2 separate regions of the Homo sapiens genome follow, and region 1 is linked to region 2. Evidence: promoter capture Hi-C in 16 types of primary human blood cells and fetal thymus (Javierre and others, 2016). All regions are on one chromosome and are shown on one strand. The core of a region is centred on a gene start or on the middle of the fragment in contact, and the rest is flanking DNA. Distances in the headings are between cores, read along the strand shown. Region 1 overlaps TRIM38 (tripartite motif containing 38). Region 2 holds the start of GMNN (geminin DNA replication inhibitor).

Evidence for each region. Contacts are between HindIII fragments. The CHiCAGO score rates a contact against its expected background, and 5 or more counts as called.
Region 1: a fragment that was not itself captured here is called in contact with the fragment with the promoter of GMNN in region 2 in 1 of 17 cell types (monocytes); the score reaches 5.9 in monocytes.

Annotation. Positions count from the first base shown.
Region 1 is chr6:25,971,683-25,976,456 of GRCh38, forward strand. TRIM38 (tripartite motif containing 38) reads left to right here. Exons shown (of 8, transcript NM_006355.5): 5 at 187-417; 6 at 1,372-1,394; 7 at 1,491-1,603. Among named protein-coding and RNA genes, the nearest start is that of TRIM38, 11 kb to the left of the region's middle. RefSeq lists an enhancer at 1-536. The HindIII fragment of the contact is 2,823 bases long and covers 1,562-4,384 here.
Region 2 is chr6:24,772,043-24,776,920 of GRCh38, forward strand. GMNN (geminin DNA replication inhibitor) reads left to right here and starts at 2,895. Exons shown (of 7, transcript NM_015895.5): 1 at 2,895-3,202. RefSeq lists an enhancer at 3,810-3,889. The HindIII fragment of the contact is 2,242 bases long and covers 1,816-4,057 here.

The sequences.
Region 1 (4,774 bases), core at 1,723-4,222, 1.2 Mb after region 2:
TCCAGATGCCTTGTATAAGCAAAGTCTTACAATATTTGCCCTTTTGTTTCTGGCTTATTTTGCTTGAATGTCTTCAAGGCTTGTCATGTAGTAGCGTGTGTCAGACTTTCATTCTTGTTTATCCATTCATCCATAGATGGACATTTGGTTTACTTCCACCTTTTGACCATACTTTCTTGACTCCAGGAGAAGGTACAGATTCAGAGACAAAAAATCCGGTCTGACTTTAAGAATCTCCAGTGTTTCCTACATGAGGAAGAGAAGTCTTATCTCTGGAGGCTGGAGAAAGAAGAACAACAGACTCTGAGTAGACTGAGGGACTATGAGGCTGGTCTGGGGCTGAAGAGCAATGAACTCAAGAGCCACATCCTGGAACTGGAGGAAAAATGTCAGGGCTCAGCCCAGAAATTGCTGCAGGTGAGGCTGTGTACTTGGAGTAGGGAAAAAAGGTATGTTATAGTGCTATTAAAGGAGAATGGTAAGGAAGCATGGGAAGATAAAGTAATGTTTCTTTTAGATGTACATCAGTGCCATCAGGCTGGCCTTCACTAATTTATAGGGTACCTTTATGTCAATTAGAAAAATAAACTTCTGAGGGAACACAGCTTGGCCAAATGAAACCACGGGATAACATTTACCACTGTTTGCCTCCTTGGCCCATGTGCAGAGAACCCTGGTTGTTGACTCTCTCCTGAAATACTCCACTAGGTGACTGATGGGTGATGAAGTGGGGCAGCCAAAATGAGTGATAACCTTTTCCCTGATTTGCTTGTAGAACCCTTGCTCCAGAGCTGTTATGGTACAATCTACAGCTTTATCTGTAGGAAGATAAACATCTGGAGCCATTAATTCTGGTTCTAACTAACAGGATTGGTGACTATACTGTAAGGCTGAGTGTATAGCATGATTGCTTTACCACTGTGTGATACCTGCTACCACCATCTTAGTGGCAGTGGCCCAGTCTCAGGGCTGTGCACAGATTCACCACTAAGGACCTTTATGATAAGTGTTCTCTAATCTGGGCTCACTGTGAAGGAAATCCGATCACCAAAAGCTAGTCCTTACAGAGGGAGCATGGACAAAGCTCCTGGCCCTCAGACTTCAGCAAGGATGAGAATAGATGCAAATGTTGATAAACATCCTGCCATGCTGAATCTCCCAGAAGCTGGTAGGAATTATTCCATCTGGGTATCCATCAATACCTAAGACTGGTGGGAATTACTTTGTTTGAGTATCCATCAATATCTAAGACTAAGACTAGGGTAACTCTCTTTACTTCTTCGGGTAAAGCAAAGAAGAATAGCCCTGCATGACAAGCCCCATGAAATACCGATGTTCCCATGCTCACCTTTTCTTTTTGTTTCTTTATAGAATGTGAATGACACTTTGAGCAGGTAAGTCCTGTTTGAATGCAGGAGGGGAGGGGTGTGCGTATATAGAAATGAATGGAATGCACCTCTGAAGAAATCTCTCGCCTCTGCTTATTCTAGGAGTTGGGCTGTGAAGCTGGAAACATCAGAGGCTGTCTCCTTGGAACTTCATACTATGTGCAATGTTTCCAAGCTTTACTTCGATGTGAAGAAAATGTTAAGGAGTCATCAAGGTATGTTCACTAAAGAATTCCTGAATACTGTGGATAGAAGGGGCCTTATGCAGTAACCAAGTTTACCACCTGTCCCTTGGCAGGCTCACAGCCAGAGAGGTTGTTTAGTTAATTTCAGTAGAGCTTTCATACTTTCTCTAGTTAGTATGATTCACTGCTCAGTGAATGTGATGAGCATTGCATTCTGGTTATCTGTGCAAACCTTTCAAATTCTTATTCTTTCACTTATTAGCCATGTTACTCCAAGTGACTTGGTTTCCCCCTCTGAAAAATGAAAATATTAACAGCTCCTACTTCATTGAGTTATCATCAAAATTAAATGCATCAACATGTACAAAGTGCTTAGCCCTGTGACTGACACATGATCATAATAGCACATCATGGTATTAGATCTGATCATAGTGTTTATTATCAATAGCTCAGCCAACTCTTAGAGCAATGCAAGAAAAGTAGGTGAGTATGATAACCTATCATTCACATATTTTAGGAACTTGACTTAGATAACACAGATGACAAATGTTACAACCAATTTACAGATTCCAAAATGTTAGAACCATTTACTGAGTTTCCTGCTCCCTTGATTTTTTAAATCAGTGCTGACTATACTTTCACAAATTTGTATCCGTAAGTACAAAATCAAAAAAACCCCTGAAAATGGAAAGTTTTATCATGATTCATTTGGCTACAAAAATCTGGCCTAACCTGAAATGATTTGGTGGTTATATTAGTTATCTATTAGTACAAACAAATTACCATAATTTAGAACCTTAATACAACACTGATATGTTATCTCAATTTTTGTGGTTCAGGAATCTGGGCACAGCTTAGTTGGGCCTGCTGCTTAGGGTCTGATAAGGCTGCAGTTAAGGTGTTGGTCAGGCTGTGTTCTTATCTGGAGGCTAGGCTAAGGAAGAATCCACTTCCAAGCTCACTGAGGTAGCAGGCAGAATTTCTTTCCTGATGGTTGCAGGACTTTGGCCCTGGTTATTTCTGGCTGTTGGCTGGAGGTTGCCCACAGCTTCTACAGGCCACCCCTCAGCTCTTTGCACATGGGCTTCTAACATGGCCAGTTATTTCTTCAGAGAGAGCTCAGGAGACAGACTCTTTAGAGAAAATCTGCCAGCAAGATGGAGTCTTACATAATGAAACGTAATCATAGAAATTATATCCCATCATCTTTGCCATATCCTATTGGTCAGAAGCAATTCATAAGCCCTGCTCACACTCAAAGACAAGGAATTTTACGAGGGTGTGAACACCAAGAGGCAGGAATCATAGAAGGCCACCCTTGAGTCTGTCTTCCACAGTGGCCAACCCTGAACGGCACTGAGATGAGACTATTTAAAAGTCTTTATTTATCCCACTTAATTTGAATAAATGTTTTGCTGCAGATATATTGATGAATTTGATTACAGGGCTCTGCCTTAGGCCATGATGGGGTTGAACTTTAGAGTATATGCATTTTTTTGCCTTTATAACTTCTAAACTAATTTGAATGGCAAAGCCCATTTTGTTCCAGGGATTTCAGAAAAGGAATTATAGACCTGTGTTCCCCTCAAATACACAACAACAAACAACAACAAAACCCAAAAGCACTCTGTATTTCATCCTATACAGATGACAGGAAGGAAGAACAAGACTTTGTGTAAGTTTTGCTGGGATTTCACTGAGTCAATTTGCCTACTCTCATCTTTTACAGAAGGAATCATAATATGGTTCAAGTGAAACTATTTCTTTCTTTCTTTCTTTCTTTTTTTTTTTTTTTGAGACAGAGTCTCGCTCTGTCGCCCAGGCTGGAGTGCAGTGGTGCGATCTCGGCTCACTGCAAGCTCCGCCTTCCGGGTCAAGTGAAACTATTTCTTAAATGGGCTTATCTTTTAACTAAATATTTCTCCCCTCTTAAACACTGTTTATTAAAATTTTTCTTTTTTCAAATTTTTTTTTGAGATGGAGTCTCGCTGTTACCCAGGCTGGCTTGCAGTGCCGCAATCTCAGCTCACTGCAGCCTCTGCCTCCTGGGTTCCAGCGCCTCAGCCTCCCGGGTAGCGTGGGATTACAGGTACGCACCACTATGCCTGGCTGATTTTTGTATTTTTAGTAGAGATGGGGTTTCACAATGTTGGCCAGGCTGGTCTCAAACCCCTGACCTCAGGTGATCTGCCTGTCTCTGCCTCCCAAAGTGCTAGGATTACAAGTGTTAGTCACTGTGCCCAGCTTTATTACAAAAGTGATAGGAATAAATTTTATTTTTATTTTTAAATGTATGTTTATTTTATTTTACATTGCCTTCAAGCAGATGCAACAAATACATTTTAATCAGTCAAACAATATAAAGGATATAAGGAGAAAGTTCAAGGTTTTTCCCACCCGTCTCCAATCTGACTTCTCTAGGTAGGGTGATCTATATCTTTCCCTAAGTTTGTACAAACGTAACATATATACACTGTCTCTTCTATGTTACTCGTTACTTTTTATGTCTAATATTCCATAAGAATATAATAAATATATGTAACCATATCCCTACTGATGGAGCTTCAGGCTGTTTTTAGAACTTAGTTATTACAATGTTGCTACAATAACTTTCTAGTCCATGCATCCTTATATCCTGGTGCTTTCATTTCTTTTGGGAACATACCCCAAACTGGGATTGCCGAGGTTGTTGTTAATCTTAATATATGGTACCATATTACTTGACTCAAAGTTGTAACATACACTCCTACCAGCACCAGGAATAATGACTCACATATACTGAGCACTCTTTAGTCTGTGACAGATTAGAAAAGCTTTACTTTTCTTGGTTCTTGTTTTATATCACAGTCCTCTCTATATGGGGCATTTTTGCTTTATAGAGGAGGAAATATGACACAGAGAGGTTAGGTGAGTGTTGTAGGATCTCATAACTAGAAGGTAGTCATAGAAAGAGTCTAGAGTCTAGAAACCACTCTCTCACCATTTTGCAATGTGGCAGAAAATGCAAAGTTGTTATTTACTTATCTCTTTTAGACAGGGTCTCACTCTGTCACCCAGGCTGGAGTGCAATGGCCCCATCATGGCTCCCTGCAGCCTTAAATTCCTGGGCTTAAGCAATCCTCCCACGTCAGCTTCCCCAGTAGCTGGGACCACAGGCAAGCACTGCCACGTCTGGCTAATTTTTTAAAAATTTTTTGTAGA
Region 2 (4,878 bases), core at 1,645-4,144:
TCTTTAAAAATTAGGGAATGTAGTCTTTTATGTGTAAAAGAAATTCCCTATATTTTCTCTTACTTTATCATTTGTCTTTGCTTATGGAAATCATCCGATTTTTAAAATACAGACAATTTCCATTTTAAGACAATGTGTAGGCCACAATTGTGTATGTGAAACAAAACATATTTAATGCCCAGGGGCCACCTTCTAGACCATCTTCAATCCTTTAAATAATTCTGCACTAAAATAATCCCCTGAAGATCCTGAGTATATTATTCTTTTTTTTTTTCTTTTTGTTTGAGACGTAGTCTCACTCTGTCGCCCAGGCTGGAGTGCAGTGGCGCGATCTCCGCTCACTGCAAGCTCTGCCTCCTGGGTTCACGCCGTTCTCCTGCCTCAGCTTCCTGAGTAGCTGGGACTACAGGCACCTGCCACCATGCCCGGCTAACTTTTTTTTGTGTTTTTAGTAGAGATGGGGTTTCACCATGTTAGCCAGGATGGTCTCGATCTCCTGACCTCGTGATCCACCCGCCTCGGCCTCCCAAAGTGCTGGGATTACAGGGTGAGCCACTGCACCCGGCCAATCCTGAGTATATTATTCTTAACATCATCTGAGTCTCAAGTCCCAAAACCTTCATTAGTAATGTGTTTCATCATTTCACTTCTCTTAGCTGTGCTTATACTCATCAAAGAAATGGTTTGTCAAAAAATAAATTGGTGCAATGTAATTATTATTTATCCATCTGAATAAAAATAAAAATAAAAAAATTGGTGTAAATATTTGTGGTTGCTAAAGTTTTGTTTTGTTTTGTTTTGTTTTGTTTTTGAGATAGAGTCTCACTCTGTCACCTGGGCTAGATTGTGGTAGTGTGATCTTGGCTTACTGCAACCTCCACCACCTGGGTTCAAGCTATTCTCCTGCCTCTGCCTCCTGAGTAGCTGGGATTACAGACGCATGCCACCATGCCTGGATAATTTTTGTATTTTTAGTAGAGACAGGGTTTCACCATGTTGGCCAGGTTGGTCTTGAACTCCTGACCTCAGGGTGATCCGCCAGCCTCAGCCTCCCAAAGTGCTGGGATTACAGGCATGAGCCATGGTGCCTAGTGGTTGCTGAAATTTTTATGGCTAAACATTTTCCAGTATTTCTACCTCCTTATCCCATCATTTAATCCTTTTTAAATTAATATTTTAAAAATTTTATTATTGGCCAGGTGCAGTGGTTCACGCCTGTAATCCCAGCACTTTGGGAGGCCAAGGTGGGCAGATCACACGATCAGGAGTTCAAGACCAGCCTGGCCAACATAGTGAAACCCTGTCTCTACTAAAACTACAAAAAATTAGCTGGGTGTGGTGGCGGGCACCTGTAATCCCAGCTACTTGGGAGGCTGAGGCAGGAGAATCGCTTGAACCCGGGGGGGGCAGAGGTTGCAGTAAGCCGAGGTTGCACCATTGCACTCCAGCCCTGGTGACAGTGCAAGACTCCGTCTCAAAAAAAAAAATTATTATTGAAAATCCCAAACAGATATAAAAGTAGAGGGAGTGAATAAAAAATCTTCATGTACTCATCCATACTAGCCTCAGCAGTTATCAACACAAGGCCAATACTGTTTTATTCGCACCAGTGGTTCTCAACTGGGGATGATTTTGCCCTGCGGAAGGTTATCTGACAAGGTCTGCAGACATTTTTGGTCTTCACAATTGGGATGTACTCCTGGTAGCTAGAGGGTAGAGGCCAGGGATACTGCTAAACAGCATACAATGCCCAGGACAGCCCCCACCACGAACAATTTGCCCAGTCTAAAATGTCAATAGAGCCCATACTGAGAAAGCTTGATTTATACCTTTTCCCTTGCTTCTCTCAATAATTATTTCAAATAAAATATATGGTATAAAATTTCATCTGTAATTACCATTTATAGGTAGAAGCTATTACAATAAAACCCACAATATTGTCATTACAACTAATCTCTTTTTTTAACCCATTGCTCATCAGGTAACCTTAAACAACTCATATCTTACCATCCCAAAATATTCAGTCAGTGTTCAAATTTCCCTTGGGTATTTTTTTAAATACAGTGTTTAGTTCAGACGAGATCCATACATTGCATTTGGTAATATGTCCCTTATTTGTACTCGATAACGCCTTCCTTCTGCTTTTTATTTTTAAAATATTTTAAAATTAATTTTTTTTTGAGACAGGGTCTCCCTTTGTCTGTAGTCCCAGCTACTCGGGAGGCTGAGGCAGGAGAATCGCTTGAACCCGGGAGGCGGAGCTTGCAGTGAGCCGAGATCGCGCCACTGCACTCCAGCCTGGGTGACAGAGCGAGACTCCGTTTCAATTAAAAAAAAAAAAAAGAAGGAAAAGGCTAGACGTAATTATTACCAAGGTGTTTCTGCTCCTTCAAATTGCAACAGCAGTTGTAATTTCAGTGCCTAGAACAGTAGTAATTGGCACGTATAAGGCGCTCAATGAATAGCTGCAGGATTAACTGATAATCGGTTGTCTCCTGAACAATTCCTACCGCACCACACCATAGTCAAAACACAAAAAGCCAAAATATAAAAGCCCCTAATACAACTACGAGTCCGTGGAGCCAGGGCTTTACACAAATATATGTCGTGTACTACATATTAATATATATGCACATACAATATTTTGTTCTTCTGGTGCTAACGACTAATGGAGGCAAATCTTTCTCCCTTTCGTAAAGGGCTAAAACTTTGCATTTTAAGGAAGTTCCAAGAGCAGGGTCGGAGGGGAGGGTCAAAGGGCACAGGCCTCCCAGCCCGCAGAAAACCCCCACGGTCCTCAAGTACTCGCTACCGTTGACCGCGCAGGCGCAGGAAGGGGCGGGGCCGAGGGAAGAGGCGATTCGCGGGATCCAGAGGCCCCGCCCCTCGTCTGCGTCAGTTGGTCACGTGGTTGTTCGGAGCGGGCGAGCGGAGTTAGCAGGGCTTTACTGCAGAGCGCGCCGGGCACTCCAGCGACCGTGGGGATCAGCGTAGGTGAGCTGTGGCCTTTTGCGAGGTGCTGCAGCCATAGCTACGTGCGTTCGCTACGAGGATTGAGCGTCTCCACCCAGTAAGTGGGCAAGAGGCGGCAGGAAGTGGGTACGCAGGGGCGCAAGGCGCACAGCCTCTAGACGACTCGCTTTCCCTCCGGCCAACCTCTGAAGCCGCGTCCTACTTTGACAGCTGCAGGGCCGCGGCCTGGGTAAGGGCGAAGGGGTTGTTGAACGGTCGCGGGAGCCGGGGCGGGGTTGGGAGGTGAGTCGAGGGACTGCCCCATTGGCTGGGTCGGTTTTGGCGCGCTCTCACTTCCGCGCTTCCTATTGGCTGGCTGGCGCAGTTCCCGAGGCGCGCGCCGCGGTTGGTAGGCTCGGACGCGCGGGGCCACACTGCCCGCCCCCTAGCCTGGCGCTGGGCCTCCGGGACAAGTTGGCTGGGTCCGGGCTTGGGGACTGCAACGCGGGTAAGGGACTCAGCCTGGGCTTGCCAGCTGTGGGGATGAGGCGAAGCATCCATCCTCTTGGCAGTTAAGTGGCTGGTCCTGATCTGAGGGATCTGCAAATTTGGCTCATGGAAAGAGGTGGCTGAATTCTGCGTCTCCCATTAAACGGATACTGGCGTTGTTGATACGGGTTTCGCATGGACCCTGTCCTGTGCCAGGGTTTTTAATCTAGCTATTAAAGGAACTGGAGAATAACAAGTAAGGGTTGCAAGGTCGCTGACAGGCGTGGGAAACTTGTGAAGGATTAGAATGCTAAGTGGCTTTCAGCTTTTTTCACACTAAGGTACGTTTTACGTCGCAACCTAGGACACAGCTATCTAACCAAATGAGACGTGATGGAAGCAATGTTTCTCGTCTCTTCAATTCCATTCTGTTCAGTTGCATTTTTCTAAGCAGTGTTGCTCATGACTCACTAATTTCGAGATCACGGCCCGCGACCCGCAGTTTGAAGAACATTGCGTAGGGTCTGTTTACTGGGGCCCGAACACCATTTTCTTAACATGAAATAGAGTAGAAAATAGCAGGATGCCCGCACAAATTAGATTGTTTTGTTTTCTAAGCTTTTTTTTTTTTTGAGACGGAGTCTCGCTCTGTTGCCCAGGCTGGAGTGCAGTGGCAGGATCTCGGCTCACTGCCACCTCCACCTGTCGGGTTCAAGCGATACTCCTGCCTCAGCCTCCCGAGTAGCTGGGACTACAGACGAGCACCACCACGTCCGGCTAATTTTTGTATTTTTGGTAGAGATGGAGTTTCACCATATTGGCCAGGCTGGTTTCGAACTTCTGACCTCAGGTGATCCGCTTGCCTCGACCTTCCAGCACTTTGGTGATCATGCAGGTGATCCGCCTGCCTCGACCTCCCAAAGTGCTGGGATTACAGATGTGAGCCACCACGCCCGGCCTTTCCTAAGCTTTTTTGTTTGCACATGTGTGTGCACGCGCCAGGACACAAGGTAAAATGTATTAATGTTAGAAGCCACTGCACTGAGTAAAGGCATGGCCACAAAAATTAGGGACATCTATCGACGAGGCACAGGCGCAGACACGGCAGGGGCCAATGGGTAGTGGGCAGTGGGCAGTGGGCAGTGGAGCAGCAGTTCAGATGCTGAGTTTGGCCCAGTGGTCTAGTCAACCGCATTACATAGATCCCTTTCTACCTTTTCCCTCTTTCTTGCTTGTTAGTCCTTCAGTTCATGTTACTGGTTAAACATTTCCTACAAATGTAAATGCATGATCTCATTTGACCAGATATTAAGTCTGTGTTAAGTTATTGTCAGAGCCCAGTTTATTATACCTTAAATCTGTCTTTGAATCAGGAAAGTTAAGATGCTGCTCTTTAGGATGGACCTGGGCATACCCTAGTATCTGTTTATTTTGCTT